2 separate regions of the Homo sapiens genome follow, and region 1 is linked to region 2. Evidence: promoter capture Hi-C in 16 types of primary human blood cells and fetal thymus (Javierre and others, 2016). All regions are on one chromosome and are shown on one strand. Each heading gives the region's core, a stretch centred on a gene start or on the middle of the fragment in contact. The rest is flanking DNA. Distances are from core to core; before and after follow the strand shown. Region 1 has its middle 110 kb from the start of CRYBB2. Region 2 holds the start of CRYBB3 (crystallin beta B3).

Region 1 (4,541 bases), core at 324-2,823, 130 kb before region 2:
GGGAGTAAAGAGGTCATTTATGTAAAGTGTATGGTGGTGTTGAAGTTTTTCTTCCTTTTTATTAGAAGAATGACATGACTCGGGAGGCTGAGGTGAGAGAACCACCATAGGCCAGGAATTCAAGAAAACTGACACTTGCACTGTGCTGGGCATGCGGGTCCACATTTTAGGGGAAAAACACACATTTACAAACACATTCACAATCACTACACATTAATTCATCCCTAGCTAACTCCCAACCCTCATGCACACAAACCCACACCATCTAAATGATACGGCTGTTTCCAGGGACTCCAGTGGATGATGACAGTTCTTCACTGAGCCATCTGTTTCTCACAGTGCACTCCAGGTCCTCACTCCTATCAGGAACCTGAGGCCAGGCAGGCTCTCCAGACAAAAGCAGGGAATAGAGCCCCCCACAACCCATCACTTAGATTTGTATCAGCAAGGGAGTGGTCTTAGGATATATACGGTGTTAGAGAAGAGAACAAGACACACTCGGGCCTGTCGGGGCAGGGGAAGGGAGAGCATCTGGATAAACAGCAAATGCATGCAGGGCTTAATACCTAGGTGATGGTTTGACAGGTGCAGCAAACCACCATGGCACACTTTTACCTATGTAACAAACCTGTACATCCTGCACATGTATCTCAGAACTTAAAAAAAAAAAAAAAAAAAACAAGTTAAAAAAGAAACGGCCGGAGTAGGCAAATCTACAGCAATAGAAAGTAGATGAGTGGCTTCCTATCGCCAGAGGTGTGGGGGTTGGAAAAAGAGAGGAGTAACCACTAATGGATACAGGGTTTCTTCGTGGAGGAATGAAAACGTTCTAAAATGAGATTGTACAATGGTTGCACAACCCTGTAAATACAGTAAAAACACTGAATCACCCACTTTAAATGGGTGAATTGTTTTGCATGTCAACTATTTCTCAATAAAGCTTTTTTTAAAAATAATAAATACATACGGTAGGAATTTTGGGCAATGGGTTTTCATGGAATATTTGCAAGTCCATGTTGGCTGGCAAATACAAAATTATTTTTCAAGAAGAAAAAGTTGCTACTAAAAAATATGCTCACTACCAGACAGTTTGTAGGTAATGCTGTCATTTTTTACTGTCATCATCAATTAGGCCTCAGTTGTTCATAAACTCATGGCTGGTCACTAGAGTCCATGACCAACTGAAGCTTGATCAACTGAAGCTTGATTGACAATGGCAATCAAAAATGATATTCACTTGATATTCCCCCCACCAAGAAAATTGTCTTAGTCATCTGTTATGTATATGGTCAGACTTTTATGTCTTCATTTCATTAATAAGGGAAGAAGCCCCAGAAAAAAAAAAAATTCTCTTCCAGATGAAGGAATGCATCTCACCATTTCAGATAACACCTCCTCCGCAATATCAAGCGCAATATCTTCCAGGTCCAGAACAGAAGCTAGGAGAACATAGAGTAATAGTCAGTGCATTGGTGCTTCTCAGGAATCCCACTAGGAGCCTTGGGGGATGTGGGGACCAGCGCTGAAGTCTATGGAGGTGGGTGGTTGACAAGCATGGACTGAGCTGCTGCTGGACCATTCTCTTTGGTGTGGAAGGAAAGCAAAGGAGAGGAGGAGAAATGTGAAATATTAGCGTTAAGAACTGATTAATACAGAAAGGCACTGTATGGTTCTGTGAGAGCATCTCCTCACACCTCCTGCCCATTTGAAGGTCCAGGCCAATCCCCTCATTTTTCAAAATGTTACAAGACCATTTAATTCTGTGGATTTACATATCCTGCTACTACATTTATCACCTATCGTGTTTTACTTTTTAAATTATGGTGAAGCATACATATTATTTTAATTATTTAGTGTACATTTCAGTGAGATTGAATTCAGTGAACTACATTCATGACGCGGTGTCAATAATGAGAAAAATCTAAATTCATACTCTAAGCTTAAAAAACAATTCTTGCAGAAATCAATGGAATAGAAAACAGAAAATCATCCGAGAAAATCAATAAAACAAAAAGCCAGTTCTTTGAGATCAGTACCATTGATAAACCTCTACCTTGGCTAACCACAAAGGAAAGAAAGATGTTACAATGTACTAATAGCATCAATTGAAGAGCAGTTAAATCAAAAAATAATAAAGGAATATTCTGAACACATCTATGCCCACAATTTGATACATAGATGAAATGAGCTCATTCCTTTTTATCGATTTTAGAAGACCAAAAGTCTTCTGGGGAAAAATAGATCATCTGAATAGGCCTATATTTATTTTAGAAATTGAAGCAATGATTAATAATCTTTCAAAAGAAGGAAAAACCAAAAACACTACATTCATATGATTTCACTGGTTAAAAAAAAAAAAAAAAAATTCTACCAAAATTCTTTTTTGTTGTTGTTTTTTGCGACGCAGTTTTGCTCTGTCACCAAGCTGGAGTGCAGTGGCGCGAACTCGGCTCACTGCAACATCTGACTCCCTGGTTCAAGCGATTCTCCTGCCTCAGCCTCTCAAGTAGCTGGGATTACAGGCACAGGCCACCACGCCCAGCTGATTTTTGTATTTTTAGTGGAGGCGGGGTCTCGCCATGTTGGCCAGGATGGTCTTGATCTCCTGACCTCGTGATCACCCGCCTCAGCTTCCCAAAGTGCTGGGATTACAGGCGTGAGCCACCGTGCCCAGCCCCAAAATTCTTACAAAGAAAAACCTGGTCTTACCATACAAGCAAGTAATTATAATCCTAAGTATTTCCTTAGTTATATTTTGGAAACATAATTTTTAAACAAGACACAGCAAGGTTTTTAATAGCTATATTCATAATTGCCCAAAGTGAAAGCAAATATCTAAACATTTGAGGTGTCCTTTACTATTAAAAGTGAACCAAGCCTGGGCAACATGATGAAACCCCATCTATACAAAAAAAAAAAAATAGAAAAATTAGCTTGGCATGATGCCTTAGTGCCAGTTACTTGGGAGCCTGAGGTGGGGGGAACACCTGAACCTGAGGAGGTCAAGGTTGCAGTGAGCTGTCATTGCACCAATGCATTCCTGGGTGACAAAATGAGGCCTTGTCTCAAAAAATAATAATTTTGAATTTTGAATTTAAGAAATCTCCAGCCGGGCGCAGTGGCTCACGCCTGTAATCCCAACACTTTGGAAGGCCGAGGCAGGTGGATCATGAGGTCAGGAGATAGAGACCATCCTGGCTAACACGGTGAAACCCACCTGTACTAAAAATACAAAAAATTAGCCAGGTGTGGTGGCACGTGCCTGTAGTCCCAGCTACTCAGGAGGCTGAGGCAGAAGAATTGCTTGAACCCGGGAGGCAGAAGTGGCAGTGAGCTGAGATCATGCCTCTGCCCTCCAGCCTGGACAACAGAGTGAGACTCCATCTCAAAAAAAAAAAAACAAAAAATCCAAATATTTGGGCCTGAATTATCCCAATTATTAGCTACTTTAAGGGTTGGGAGAAAAGTAACAATCTGACCCTTAGCTGGTTCCTTCATTTAGGTACCAAACCGGCCGGATAGGTGAGGCTAGAGAATGGGATGGGGACTCCAAAATTGGGGTATTTGAATTTTCATTGAGAAAAGGGAGAGACTAGATCAAAAAAGCCTCAATGTCTAAGGCAAGAGGCAGAGCCAGCCTTTGTCCCCCATGCCCAGACCTGGGAAAGCTGGCTATGGACAGGAGGGAGCTGGAAGCTGAGGATGTCTCTGGGGATGAGGGTAAGGGAAGGGGGTGGGGGTGGCCAGAGGTGTGCCAGAGGGTAAACGGCACCCGTGGCTTTTTTACCTGTGGGCATCTTTTGGTTGCTGATGTGCTGCAGGTCTTGGCCCTCCGTGGCTCCCACATCCAGCTTGCCAGGCTCTACGGTAGTGGATTCTGATGTTGCAGCAGCCACGGCCTCATAAATATCAGATTCATAACTGGATGCTGCCTTCCCCCTGGGCCAGCCACAGTCGGAGCTGACTTTGGGGCACACACGACAGGTCAGTATATTCCCCGTGGGGCACCTACACTCCTCTCCACTCCTGCCTGAGCCTTCGATGAAATTGTAACTGTGCTGCCCTAGCAGCCACACTACTGAGGGTGGCCCTGCACTTGTAGAAGCAGCCTGACCCCAGGCAGATCTGGGGCCTCAGCCCGTAGTCTGCCGCCACCTCCCAAACTGGATGGTCTATGAGGTCGGGGACCTACTGTTTTACCTCAAAAAGAAACACGACAAGCGCCAAGAGGCACAAAAACTGCCGTCAAAGAGCACAGTCGGAGCTCCTCCTCCCTCCACTGCCAGCTACCGACTGAGGGCTGCTGGCCTGGCTAATGCCTATAACCCACAAAGCTTCCTATGTCACCTGGTTACCAGGAAACAGGTCAGGCTAGTGACTCACCATGTCCAGCCCCACAGCCCCCCCAGTGCCTCACAATGCCCATCCCAGCTGCTGCCCACCTTGTGGCACCCCTGCCCCTCCATGGGGACTGCACTACTCAGGCTTTTATTCACCCTGTGCGGCCTGAGCTTTCCAGAACTAAGCAAAGTGCAGGGGGG
Region 2 (4,251 bases), core at 233-2,732:
GGGAGAAGCCAGGTGTTGATGTGACTGGAGTCCAGGATGAGCTACAGAGCCTTGCTGCCCATGGGGCGTGGCTGTAACTTATGATCGACATTCAGTCATTCAGCAAACATCCATTGAGCACCTGCCATGGGCCACGTGGACTGAGACAGTGGGATCAGGAGCCCCATTGTACAGAGGGGAACTCTGAGGCTCAGCAAAGTGAGGCCACTTCCTCAAGCACACAGTGAGGAAGTGGCCTGGGTCGGGCCTGGCTCCAAAGCCCGTGCCCTTTTCCCCTGATCCAGATGCTCCCCGAAACCCAGGTTTCTCAGAGCTCTCTGCAGATGTCCCACCCCCAGAACCTGGCTAAAGGGTGGGCTTCAGGGAGTTTCCTCTACAGGGGTCTCTCCCACCTCCGTACTCCAGGAACTCTTTTGTTCACTGGTTACTTTATTCAACAAATATTCCATGAGCACCTACACAGTGCCAGGCTCTGGGCTGGGTGACCAGGAGGGACAGGAGACCCCATATGTCGGGAGGTGGACAGACAGACCTCTAGAGAAAAGGCTTGTAAGACCAGGTCGTTGGACACCTGCTCCAGGTCAGTTTCCCTGCGTTCGGTTACTCATTCCTTAAGCATTTATTGAACACGACTGTGTACCAGCCACTTCAAGACCCAGACACCGACAGTTCTTCATTGCTACAGGGACAGTGACACGCAATACAGGCCCCTGCCGCAGTCACATGGAAGGATTCTCATCATTGTTGCACCCATGGACACACACAGGACTGTTCTGTTTGTCAGCACACACACATAGGTGCACACACTCGCAAAAGTTTCTATGGTCACTATCAGTTATATTTCACCCATGGGCTCACAGGACAGCTTCTTTCTCTCTCTCTCTCTCTCTCCTCACACACACACATCCCTGCCCATTTCAGACATCCACAGTGGTAAACAAGGCACCTACATCTACACCCCACATCCAACTGTTACCCACCCACGGCTCCCAGCACGGCCACCCCAGCATGCACAGCTGCACAGCCCACATACTCTGGATGTGGGCCTAACCATGCACAGCCTGCGGGCTGTCGGTTCTGTCTCTCCTAGCCTCAGCAGGAAACAGGGCTTGGTCCAGCTCACAGGGGACTCTCGGGGGACTTGGCAGGTACCATGTGTGCCCACTCCCCTCCCTCAGAGGAGCTGTTTTGGAAGGTCCCCTGCCCTAAGCACATGTCCAGGGGCTTGGACCCTGGCCACTGCAGACAAGGGTCCCTCGTTCCACCCCCAGCTGGGCTGTCAGGGTCCTCTCACTGGGACCTGACCCTTAAGGGAGGCGCTGTTTTTCTTTGCAGGCGGTCAGCCATGCGCGTCCCACAGAAACTACAAAAGGTCCGGGCCTGCCAGGGTGGCTTTTGCCTCCCCACCCCCAACCCATCCCAGAATGAACCTGTTGCTGTAGCCTCGGGAAGAACAGAGGAGCCACGGCCGTCTGCAGACTCGCCTGTCTTCGCAAGGGGCATGCTATTTATGAGCACTTTCTGACAGCCCAGCACATCCCAGCCTGCTGAGGCAGCACCCTGTCCACCCAATTCCATCCAGGCCACTTCACTCCAATAGCGGGTCCACGGAGGCCCCCAGTGCCTGTCTCCTCAGCCACCGTCTCTGATGACTTCCTGGGGACAGATGAACCTCACTGGCTTTGTGGGAAGCCCAGCAGCGCCAGGCAAGGGGCACGGTGTGCAGCTCTCCCGTGTCTCCCCACAACCACCAACTCCCTTTCTTTGGTTTCTTGGGGTCACCATTTCCTATTGAGTCACACGCAACCTTTGGAAAAATTCTAGTTCTTAAAGTGAGGGACCCCAGACACTCTCCAGTTTCCATGTGCCATGTGGCCTAAGTTTTAAGTCAGATCACGCTAACCATACTCTCCAACTTGGGCGCAAATCCACCCAACCGTTTCCATAGGATGCCGTCACAGAACTCACAGACTGACTTTCTTCATGTAGAAGACACGCACGAATAATAGCTACCATTTCTTGAACACCTACTACACGCAAGGCATTGTGCCAGCTTCACAAGCATTGTATGGAATTCTCATCCAGCCATCCTTAGGGGAGGAATTCTGATTCCACTTTATACATGGAGAAACTGAGTTCAGAGAGGTGAACCCATTTACTCAGAATCACACAGCAGAGAGAAGGGGCTGGCCTGCTCCAGGACCTGGGATCTTAGCCTCAATAGAAATAAAAGTGACCATCACAGTCAACTTATTTATGACCAAAGAAAAAAGGTAGATCCAGGTATTTTTATTTTATTTTTTAGAGATAGGTTGTTGCTACATTGCCCAGGCTGGACTCAAACTCCTGGGCTCAAGCAATCCTTTCTCCTCAGTGTCCTGAATAACCGGAACTACAGGCACGTGCCACTGCACCCAGCTTCCAGGAATTTTTTAAGTGTCTAACAAAGTATAATTTTGCCTGTAATCAATATCTAATAAGTGATTATTTTATGAATAAAATTATATTGGAGCAAAGGAGTGAGTTAACAAGGTTTTCTTTTGTTGTTGTTGGTATTTGTTTTTGGCTAAAATCCTCAAGTCAGCATAAAACCCAGTTACAGGCCGGGCGCGGTGGCTCACGCCTGTAATCCCAACACTCTGGGAGGCCGAGGCAGGCGGATCACGAAGTCAGGAGCTCGAGACCATCCTGGCTAACACGGTGAAACCCTGTCTCTACTAAAAACACAAAAAATTAGCCAGGTGTGGTGGCGGGTGCCTGTAGTCCCAGCTACATGGGAGGCTGAGGCAGGAGAATGGTGTGAACCCAGGAGGCAGAGCTTGCAGTGAGCTGAGATCGCACCACTGCACTCCAGCCTGGGCAACAGAGCAAGACTCCGTCTCAAAAAACAAACAAACAAACAAAAACACAGTTACCCTGTACCCCCTAGAGGGAGATGGTGGTGAGATGCTGTGGATGACAGCTGGACTCTGAGTCAGGCAGATGTGTGTGACCTTGGACGAGTTCCTGAAGGTCTCAGAGCTACTGTCTCCTCACCATAAATGGAGAACCTTCTCTCCACTTGGGCCATTTTGGGAGGTCATGCAAGCAAAGCACTGCGCACAGTATCTGTTATTTTTGACTTTTATTCCCAGCATCCTGCCTACTCTGGACAGTTCAAGCCAAGGGGCTACTTCCTGCTGAAGGTCACAGAAAGCAGTCGGTTTGGACCCCCTGAGTTGGGATGTAGTTGCCACCAGCTGGGACAGAAGGAGGAAGGCAGAGGTGGGGATGGCGTGGCTCCCCCTCCCATCACATCTTTGAGGACCTTGCAGACCTACTGCACGCTCAGCACTTTGATGTACCACATCTCCCCAATCTAGACTTTTCAACCTTGACACTACTGCCATTTGGGGTCGGGTCATTCTTTGTGGTGGGGTCGGGGTGGGAGCTGTCCTGTGCACTGCAGGATGCTGAGCAGCATCCCTGGCCTCTACTCACTTCCTGGAGCATCTTCTCTCCTTCTTGTGATAACCAATAATGCCTCCTTTCATTACCAGACATGCTCTGGAGGGCACAATCCACCCAGCTGAGAACCACCACCTTAAACTGTTACCTGCAAAAATGTCCTGATCACCACTCCCATTGTATAGCTAAGGAGAACCAATGTTTAAAAGAAATCCCACAGCCAGAGGGTGGCAGGAGGAGGACTCAACCCCTTGTCAGTCTGAATGGAAATCCTGCCTTGTTTCCATGGCCTCCCATTCTGCATGGACACCCTCTCCCAGGACCCCAGCTCTGCCCTCTCGCTGGCTGGCCCACAGCTCAGCACAGGACAGACTGACTCAGCCAGCCCCAGTCAGGGCCTGCATGCATGGGAGACTCTATTCATTCACACATGGACGCACCGACTTCTCCAATGCAACTTGCACCAAAGCTTTATTTGCTATTTTCATAGTCTGAATGCAACATCTTTGTACATGCAAAGGTCATCTTGTTTTATTGCAGTCGACCAGATTTCCAACTGCTCTTCTGTGCATATGAAACTTCTTTACAGTTACAAAATATAAAAGCACTTGTAGACGTCCAATACTCTGTGAGGTCTGGTAAGCCCCATTTGTTTTTACATTAAAAATATAAGTTTTTCTAGATGACTTCTCAGTCACACGGTTAGAGATTCTTTCTGGGACTGGATAAAGTGCCTCTCGTCTGCCTTCCGTTCAGAACTCCTAGAGCTTGTGAATTCCTAAGGCAATTGCAAGAACACCGCAG

The links. Contacts are between HindIII fragments. The CHiCAGO score rates a contact against its expected background, and 5 or more counts as called.
Region 1: a contact is called between a fragment that was not itself captured here and the fragment with the promoter of CRYBB3 in region 2, in 2 of 17 cell types (M1 macrophages and endothelial precursors). The highest score is 6.1, in M1 macrophages.

What each region holds. Positions count from the first base shown.
Region 1 is chr22:25,326,985-25,331,525 of GRCh38, reverse strand. No RefSeq gene overlaps it. Among named protein-coding and RNA genes, the nearest start is that of CRYBB2, 110 kb to the right of the region's middle. The HindIII fragment of the contact is 737 bases long and covers 1,205-1,941 here.
Region 2 is chr22:25,197,089-25,201,339 of GRCh38, reverse strand. CRYBB3 (crystallin beta B3) reads right to left here and starts at 1,482. Exons shown (of 6, transcript NM_004076.5): 1 at 1,431-1,482. KIAA1671 reads right to left here. Exons shown (of 13, transcript NM_001145206.2): 13 at 3,892-4,251. The HindIII fragment of the contact is 15,596 bases long and covers 1-3,918 here.